Linked DNA regions of Homo sapiens: regions 1 and 3 are each linked to region 2. The links are contacts of gene promoters, found by promoter capture Hi-C in blood cells and fetal thymus (Javierre and others, 2016). All regions are on one chromosome and are shown on one strand. Each heading gives the region's core, a stretch centred on a gene start or on the middle of the fragment in contact. The rest is flanking DNA. Distances are from core to core; before and after follow the strand shown. Region 1 has its middle 28 kb from the start of POU2F2-AS2. Region 2 holds the start of DEDD2 (death effector domain containing 2). Region 3 has its middle 7.6 kb from the start of POU2F2-AS2.

Evidence for each region. The method cuts DNA at HindIII sites, captures the fragments that hold promoters and counts their contacts. A CHiCAGO score of 5 or more calls a contact.
Region 1: a fragment that was not itself captured here is called in contact with the fragment with the promoter of DEDD2 in region 2 in 7 of 17 cell types (monocytes, total CD8 T cells, fetal thymus and 4 more); the score reaches 7.9 in monocytes.
Region 3: a fragment that was not itself captured here is called in contact with the fragment with the promoter of DEDD2 in region 2 in 7 of 17 cell types (naive B cells, total B cells, naive CD4 T cells and 4 more); the score reaches 8.8 in naive B cells.

The regions. Positions count from the first base shown.
Region 1 is chr19:42,179,591-42,182,290 of GRCh38, reverse strand. It overlaps a transcript of POU2F2 not described here. Among named protein-coding and RNA genes, the nearest start is that of POU2F2-AS2, 28 kb to the right of the region's middle. The HindIII fragment of the contact is 7,957 bases long and covers 1-2,700 here.
Region 2 is chr19:42,216,258-42,218,957 of GRCh38, reverse strand. DEDD2 (death effector domain containing 2) reads left to right here and starts at 1,281. Exons shown (of 5, transcript NM_133328.4): 1 at 1,281-1,326; 2 at 1,913-2,278. The coding sequence starts at 1,951. RefSeq lists enhancers at 1-45, 46-922 and silencers at 1,694-1,793, 1,804-1,863, 1,945-2,150. The HindIII fragment of the contact is 12,709 bases long and covers 1-2,700 here.
Region 3 is chr19:42,158,807-42,161,506 of GRCh38, reverse strand. It overlaps a transcript of POU2F2 not described here. Among named protein-coding and RNA genes, the nearest start is that of POU2F2-AS2, 7.6 kb to the right of the region's middle. The HindIII fragment of the contact is 1,185 bases long and covers 841-2,025 here.

The sequences.
Region 1 (2,700 bases), core at 148-2,647, 37 kb after region 2:
AGTTCCAGGTCTCTCTCTCTCTCTCTCTCTCTCTCTCTCTCTCTCTCTTTTGAGACAGAGTCTTGCTCTATCGCCCAGGGCAGTGCAGTGGAACAATCTTGGCTTACTGCAACCTCTGCCTCCTGAGTTCAAGTGATTCTTGTGCCTCAGCCTCCTGAATAACAGGTCTCTTCTTTTTGCTCCTTGTCCTTGCACCACTTTTTTCCTTCTCCCCAGTTTCTTCCCTTCCTGCTTTGTGTGCCTTCGTTTCCCTTATCTTACACCCTTTATCCTCAGAGATTATAAGGGAGCCCCAAGACTTGTAACCAAGACACCAAGATGTACACACACGCACACACATGGCCACAGATGCGCGAACAAATGTTTCATTAATGAACAAATGCATCTATCTAAAGGTATGTTCAAGGCCGGGAGTGTTGGCTCACGCCTGTAATCCCAGCACTTTGGGAGGCCGAGGTGGGTGGACCACCAGGTCAGGAGTTTGAGTCCAGCTTGACCAACATGGTGAAACCCCGTCTCTACTAAAAAATACAAAAATTAGCTGGGCATGGTGGCATGCGCCTGTAATCCCAGCTACTCGGGAGGCTGAGGCAGGAGAATAGCTTGAACCCGGGAGGCAGAGGTTGCAGAGAGCCGAGATTGTGCCACTGCAGTCCAGCCTGAGTGACAAAGCAAGGCTCTGTCTCTAAATAAATAAATAAATAAATAAATAAATAAATGTATGTTCAGACGCACACACTCAATTAAGGTCATCCATAGCTTGCAATGTTTTGTACTTAGTATACATCAGGTACTATTATTTGTATACATGTTTCTGAAAGATGAACAGGCAGAATGAGGAGGGAATAAGAGCTGAGCTCATTCGTACAGGAAGAGCCATGTACATGCACACCTGTACCCAGAGATGGCCCTCACTCAGACATGCACACACACACATTCCTCAGAGGAATCTGGTACTTCTGGAATTATGCTATTTCAGAAGCAGAGAGAGCACACATGTTTTTGCTGTGTTGTGTACAGTGTATGGTGTACGTCTTTGCATGTGCCTGGTGTGTATACATGTGCTGCATCAGCCTTCGTGGAATCATGACTCGGGGCTGGGCGGAGCCCTAGAAATCAGTTAGGACAACCTGCATGTGCGGATTGCTTAAGTCTCCTATTGGATCTGACTTTTGTAAGTCCATGAGGGATGTCAGCTTCTGCTTAATATGGATATTCTGGATAATTAAGATACCAATCATGCATAGGTTGTGGACCACAGACTCTTAACATACTGGCAAGTAAGCATATGATATGGACTTAGCACATATCAAACCAAGTTTTTTGGATCCTTAAAATTGGTGCTTTAGCCTGGGGAACATATGGAGACCTCATCTCTGCTTAAAAAAAAAAAAAATAGATGGGTGTGGTGGTGCATGCCTGTAGTCCCAGCTACTTGGGAGGCTGAGGCAAGAGGGGATTGCTTGAGCCCAGGAGTTTGAGGCTACAGTGAGCCATGATCACGCTGCGGCACTCCAGCCTGGGTGACAGAGGGAGACCCTGTCTCAAAACAAACAAACAAACAAACAGACAAACATTGGTGCTGTGTGCTTAGTGTATACTCACTGTATACACAATTATTATGTACTTGGTCATTCTTAGGAAGGATGACCGCCCCCCACCCCACCCATGTACTGGTCCTTGTAGGTGCCAGGGCCAAGGCAGGGAACAGGACATCCTTGGTCTCTGCCCTGTCCCTGCTTCCCTTCTAGTAGGTACTCAGGCTGTCCATAGCTCCTCCTAGGTCTATTGTACACGTACAGATGGAGGGACCTGGGAGTCTGCTGGGTAGATTCATTGCAGGGTCCAGTATTCCTTGTTGCTCCTTCCAGAATGGATAGTGTGTGGGTTGTCATTATATACACCCTTTTTTGAGTTCTCTCCTCACTATTGGGACCCCATGTGCCTTTGTATGCAAGCGGAGTGGGTGTTTCTTATGTTCAGTTTTGTTATGTGCCTTTGTGGATCACCAGAACCTGCTCATGGGTGTCTCTTATGTTCACACTAGCTAAGTCTATTAGGTTGGTGTGCCAGCTTTGTAGGCATGGGGGATAGGGTACTTCCTGCATTCATTTATGTTGTGCCCACACAGTATGGGTCCCAGGGAGGCTGGTTGGTAGGTGGCTATGGGGTGGTTCCGTGTCCACTATGTTCATGCCCTGTAGGCCCATGTGCCTAGTTTGTGTGCAGTTGGAGTGGGCGTTTCCTGTATTTATTTGTGTTGTGAACACACTGTGTGGATCCCAGGAGTCTGCTCTGTATGGGGGTATTAAGTGGTCCCATGTCCATTATGCATCTGCTGCATAAGACCCAAATACCTACTTTGTATGGACAGAGGGTAGTATTCCTTGCATTTATTTGTGTTGCGCACACAGTGCGGGTCCCAGGAGGCTGCTCCGTACAGGGAGTAGTAGGTAGTTCTGTGTCTATTATGCACACGCTGCACAGGTCCTGGGTACTTACTTTGTACGCCCACGGGGTAGGTGTTTCCTATATTTATTTATGTTACGCACTTCCAGTGTAGGTCTTGGGAGCGTTCTCCATACACGTGGGCAGTTGGTGATTCTCGTGTTTCTCACACACACATGAGGGTCCCGCGTGTCCACTCAGTATGCATGGGGTAGCCTTGCTGGTAACAAAGCGAAGGGCGGTTGCAGCTGC
Region 2 (2,700 bases), core at 32-2,531:
TGCTTACTGCTCCCTGGTTCAAGAGATTCTCTTGTCTCAGCCTCCCAAGTAGTTGGGATTTCAGGCGCGTGCCACCACATCCGGCTAAGAACAGACAGGGTTTCATCATGTTGGCCAGGCTGGTCTCGAACTCCTGGCCTCGTGTGATCCGCCCACCTCGGCTTCTCAAAGTGCTGGGATTACAGACGTGAGCTACCGCGCGCAGCCGATTCTTTTGAATTCACTGCTACAGCTCAGGCAGAGCCAGTACTGGGCCAGTGCTAGGCAGGACCCAGATCTCCCGACTCCCAAGAGGAGTTAATTGCGGGGGTGGGAAGAGGTCCAGGGAGGGGACTTGTCTCAAGTACATGCAGGTCCTGACCTTGAGTCACCTAAGTGGGGGGCGTGGCGACCGTCACACCCAAGGCCCCGCGGTAAGGGGACACGCATACACCACAGCCTAGACTCCCTGACAGACCCTCTCTAGTTGTTGCAAGTTAGGGAGCGGGTATCTGGGCGACCCTGGAGGGCAGAGATTGGAAGGGGTTACGGAGGGGCCGTTTTGGCTCTGGGTGGAGACATCTGACTGTGATGGGGGTCGTGATGGACGCCATCGAGATGTACACAGTCGGAATGGAGGGTTCTGTTGCCGCTTGGAAGGAGGTATCCGTCCTGAACGTGAGATGAGGGAATTCTGGTTTTGATCAGGGGAAGGAACTTATAGACTGCGGGGGTGGTGGTGGGGGGGCGGGATTTCCATTTGGGATCACGAGAGAGCACAGTTGAGATGTAGATCCCTGGTTGTCACTAGAAGTGAGGGACAATCTAATGGAGGAGTGCCCAGGACCAGATCATATAAGGCCTGGGAGTTTACTGGGAGACGGGAAAGTAGTGATTGTGTTACTTTGCCACGGGCAACTAGGGGCAGTGGTGATGTGGGCGTCTAGCTCGTGATCAGGAGGGGGCTGTAGTTTATGAGATGAGTAGTTACAACTACTCGTGACGTGGCGCTACATGGCCCCGGTGGCTTGAGTCACGGGCAGGAAGTAGGGACCTGGAACCGGGTACCAGATACAGCCCAAGAGGCGGCGTGCTCTCGCTCTGCGCAAGCGCAGCACTCGCGAACCAAGATGCTTCGGTTGGGGGCAGGTCAAGCGGCCCAGGAAGGGCGGGGCTTGGAGGCCTCGTTCTGCGCATGCGCCGAAGGGGCGTGGCGGTCGCACCTGCGCGAGTTGGGGGAAGGAGGAGGGGCGAGGTGACGCAGGCGTAATAATAGAGAAGGTGCCAGAAAGATCCAAAACAAGTGGCTGCGGCCGTCGCCCAGGAGTCATCGGACGCCAGAATCTGGTGAGGATCCAGAGAGGCCTAATGGTGACTGGTGGCGGGTAGACAGGACCACCTGGGCTCTGGGGAGCGGGCGGGGCCGCCCTTGCAGGGCGAGGGGGTCGGGTTCGGACGGTACCACCTGTGTGGAGCAAAGGGGCTGCCTGGGTCGCTCCTCTGTGTAGGGGGCAGAGGGTCACTTTCGGGAGGTACCACTTGCGTAGAGCCGGGGGACTCATCAGACGGTACCGCTGGACGGAGAAAAGGGGCTCGTCTGGGCAGTCCTACCCAGAGTCAGGGGCAGTCAGCAGGGAGCCCCGGGGTGGGCCCCGAGGCTTGTTTGGGCCGCATCGTTTGGTCAGGTCCGGAGGCGAGCTCCGAACGTAGCACGGTGGTGGGGGCAGAAGCCGAGCGGGCTCCGGCGTCCCGACCTGTTCTTAGGGGACCTCGGGCGGGACCATTCCCTCCCGGGGGAGGGGGAGGCCGAGGCGGTTGGGGGTGCGGGAGCGGCCCTGCCCGGCGCGATTGGGCGGGGGAGACGCGCTGGCGGTGTGGGGTTCGGGCCTCCGCGTCGCTGACCACTGCCCCCTCCCCGCTGTGTGGGTTCTAGGCCGGGTTCTGAGCTTGTTCCGCCTCCCTCCCCCGGGAATGGCGCTATCCGGGTCGACCCCGGCCCCGTGCTGGGAGGAGGATGAGTGCCTGGACTACTACGGGATGCTGTCGCTTCACCGTATGTTCGAGGTGGTGGGCGGGCAACTGACCGAGTGCGAGCTGGAGCTCCTGGCCTTTCTGCTGGATGAGGCTCCTGGCGCCGCCGGAGGCTTAGCCCGGGCCCGCAGCGGCCTAGAGCTCCTGCTGGAGCTGGAGCGCCGCGGGCAGTGCGACGAGAGCAACCTGCGGCTGCTGGGGCAACTCCTGCGCGTGCTGGCCCGCCACGACCTGCTGCCGCACCTGGCGCGCAAGCGGCGCCGGCCAGGTACGGTTGAATGGGAGGGTGTCACACTTCCTGGGAGGAAAGGGCCTGGCTCCCGCTGGGCCTCCCTGGTGCCCTGATACGGACAGTGCCATATCAGGCAGCTTATGTCCCATTCTGCTACTCTCTCTTCCCACAATATCAATGAGCAACATAAGAGGAAGAAAGCATGGCTTTGGGAATTTGGCCACATCAGTGATGATGATTTTGGCCACTGTTTACGGAGGGCTTGTTTCATGCCAGGCACAGCTGTCAGCCCTTCATATGAACTAGTGCCTTATAGTCTCCCAGTAATCTCACAAGGAAGTCCTGTTACTGTCTTCACTGTAACCAAGAAAATAACAAGTTCAGAGAAGTTAAGCAGTTTGCACGTATAATAACAATCCTGTTTGCTGGGCCTAGGAGGGATACAGGATGATGGAGCT
Region 3 (2,700 bases), core at 184-2,683, 58 kb after region 2:
CCTTCCTACAGGGCTGTGGAGAGGCTCAGCAAACCCTCTTTGGGGATGGGCCTCCTGACCTCTTGCCTACTTCTCTGTTCTCTCCATCTTGTACACAGGAGGTAGAAGGACCTTTCCAAAGGCAAACTGGATTGTATCCCTCTCCCTCTCTGACGAAGCCCTGGCTGCTTGGACCAGGCACTTGACGCCCTGCAGGGAGCAGCCCCTGCAATCTGGAAGCCTCGTCTTTCCCCATTTTTCTTACTGAACCCTGGACAGGCAAAGTCCTGGCATTCTCTCGTTCCTTGCACCTGGTTCTTTCTCTGATTAAAATTTGTCTTCCAGGTTTGGCTTGGGTGTTGTTTCCTCCCTAAGTCTTCTGTGATCTCACCCAGGATGCCCGCAGCACCCTCTGCTTACCCCAGCATGTTGGCATTGGCTCTTCCTTCTGTCTCCTCAACTTGCCTGTGAGCCCCGTAATAGAGCAGAGACCTTGTCTAATTCATCTCTGTCCCCTGCCACACTTGATTCAGAGCCAGAGAAATCTCAATATTTGTTGATGAACTAAATGCACAAATGAATGGACAAATGTACAAGTCAGAAATATCATTATGACTTTTATTTTTAATCTCCCCAGAGCACATAGGAACTTAATAATGAGTAACCTTTTCAAATTTCTTTCTCATTTGTTCCTCGTAGCAGTCCTTTGAGATACACCATTTAATCAGTTAATTCCTCCATCCACCCATCCATTCACTCCGTCGTCCGTTATGCACTAATTGAGCATCTCAAATTTGCCAGGCCCTCTGCCAAACACAAAAGCTTCAAGACACAGTTACAGTCCCTGCACTTTAAGAAGCTTCCAGTCTGATGGGAAAAACAGATGTTCCACAGTGGCAGGCACTAGTATGCCCATTTATGAGTTGGGGACACAGAGGCTCAGAGGCCAGAAGTGACTACTGAAGGCAACAAGTGGCTGACTGGACCTGAGTTCCAGGCACCTGACTCCACAGTTAGCCAACTGCAGCTCCTGATGATGTGACAGGAGGAGGGTTCCTCCACTGGAGGAGTGCATCATCCTGCATGAGGATGGGGAATTCTCCGGGATGTTGACTGCATTCTCCTCTCTCTCCAGGTTCTCGACTGGACCGGGTTGGTGGCCTGAATGTATTAGCTTCGCTGCGTCTGCCCAAGAGGTAAGGACCACGGCCTTAGAGTTTTGCTTATTGATGCACCTTCTGGTTTCTCACAGAAGTCTCTGCTTTCCCATCCTCGTCTCTGGCCTCACCCTGGGTGTGTTGCTGCCCTTCTCCACTCTGCCCACCCAGAGGTTAGAATCTGACTGCTTTGTTCTCACCCTCCATGCATCCTGTGGCTTTCGGGCCAAACCAGTGGTTCTTGGTGTTGATGACTGTGGGTGTTTCTGCTGATCAGTGTTACGGCTCAGTAGGAGAGAGATGGGGGTAACTCGGTGGCTCAGATCACAGCTTTGGGTTCAAGCACACCTATGTTCGAATCTCTTTTCCTGACTTCGAGGGACTTGGGAAAGTTTGAGCTTCCATTTCCTTGTCTGTAAATGGGAATACTAATAGAACCCACCTTAAGTGCCATCCTGAGAGCAAAAGGAGATAGAGGAAGAAGAGCCAGGTGGCTGAGTGATCCTGGGCATGGCTCAGTTTCCCCATCTGTCAAAGGAGGGTAATTAATAGCATTTACCACATGGAGGTGGCGTGAAGATGAAAGTACTTATTCCTTGAAATCGTGTGGCTGCAGGAAGTGGGAGCTCAAAATATGGCTGGAAGCGTTCCCCTGAACAAAGAAGGTTTTATGAAGCCCCTCCCTGAAGCCCACTGAGACTCCCAGGTAGAAGCCATAGTTCTCCTGCTGCTCACCTCTGTGGGAAGCAGGGGCTCTGGCCATTTGCCCTGGTGTTTGCTCCAGCTTGCTTGGTGAGGCCCTGGCAATGAGCATCTAGGGAGGAGGGTGGACAGGGCTTCTGGGGTGGGACAGCCCTCTACTGCCACCCCTATTCCCACCAGAGAAGCTTAACCCACAGGTCTCAGGACCCCAGGGAGGCCTTTGGGTGCCCTTGTAGGACTCCTGGGTAGGAGTCCTTTGCTGTACCAGGAATCACAGTCTCATTTTAAGAAGCAGATGGAAGCTGTAGCCCAGGGTTTGCAACCCAGCATTGTAGGGACTATGATGGACTGAAAAATGCATGGGGTGGGGGACTGCTTTTTAGCTCCACTGACTGTTCTCATGCACAGATGCAACCCTGACTTGCCAGGGTTTCTGATTTTTCAAGAGAAGCCAGGAACCCAGACTTGTGTGTGAAGTCTTCCAATCTTTAAATGTTGGCAACTAATGCAAAACTTGCAAAATCTCCTCGTGGTCCAAACAACATATTTCAGGCAACCTTTGGCCCATAGATACCTAGTTTCACAACAGTATAGAGCTTCTCCCAGGAAAACACATACCTACATTTGCCCAGTTGTGCTACACTTTGGGATGATCACAGACCCCCTGAAGCTCATTCATGGACCCCTGTTATCGCTGAGAGTGTTTGTTCCAGGATGTGTCATTTCTCTAGAGTGCTTTCTCCAGGGAACCGAAGTTGCAGTTTTTCCAGGAATCCTCACATCCTCGAAAAGAGAGTCAAGGAATTTCCAGGTTGCAGAATTAGTTTGGGAGCTAGAGACTGGCTTTGAGGAACGTCTGAAA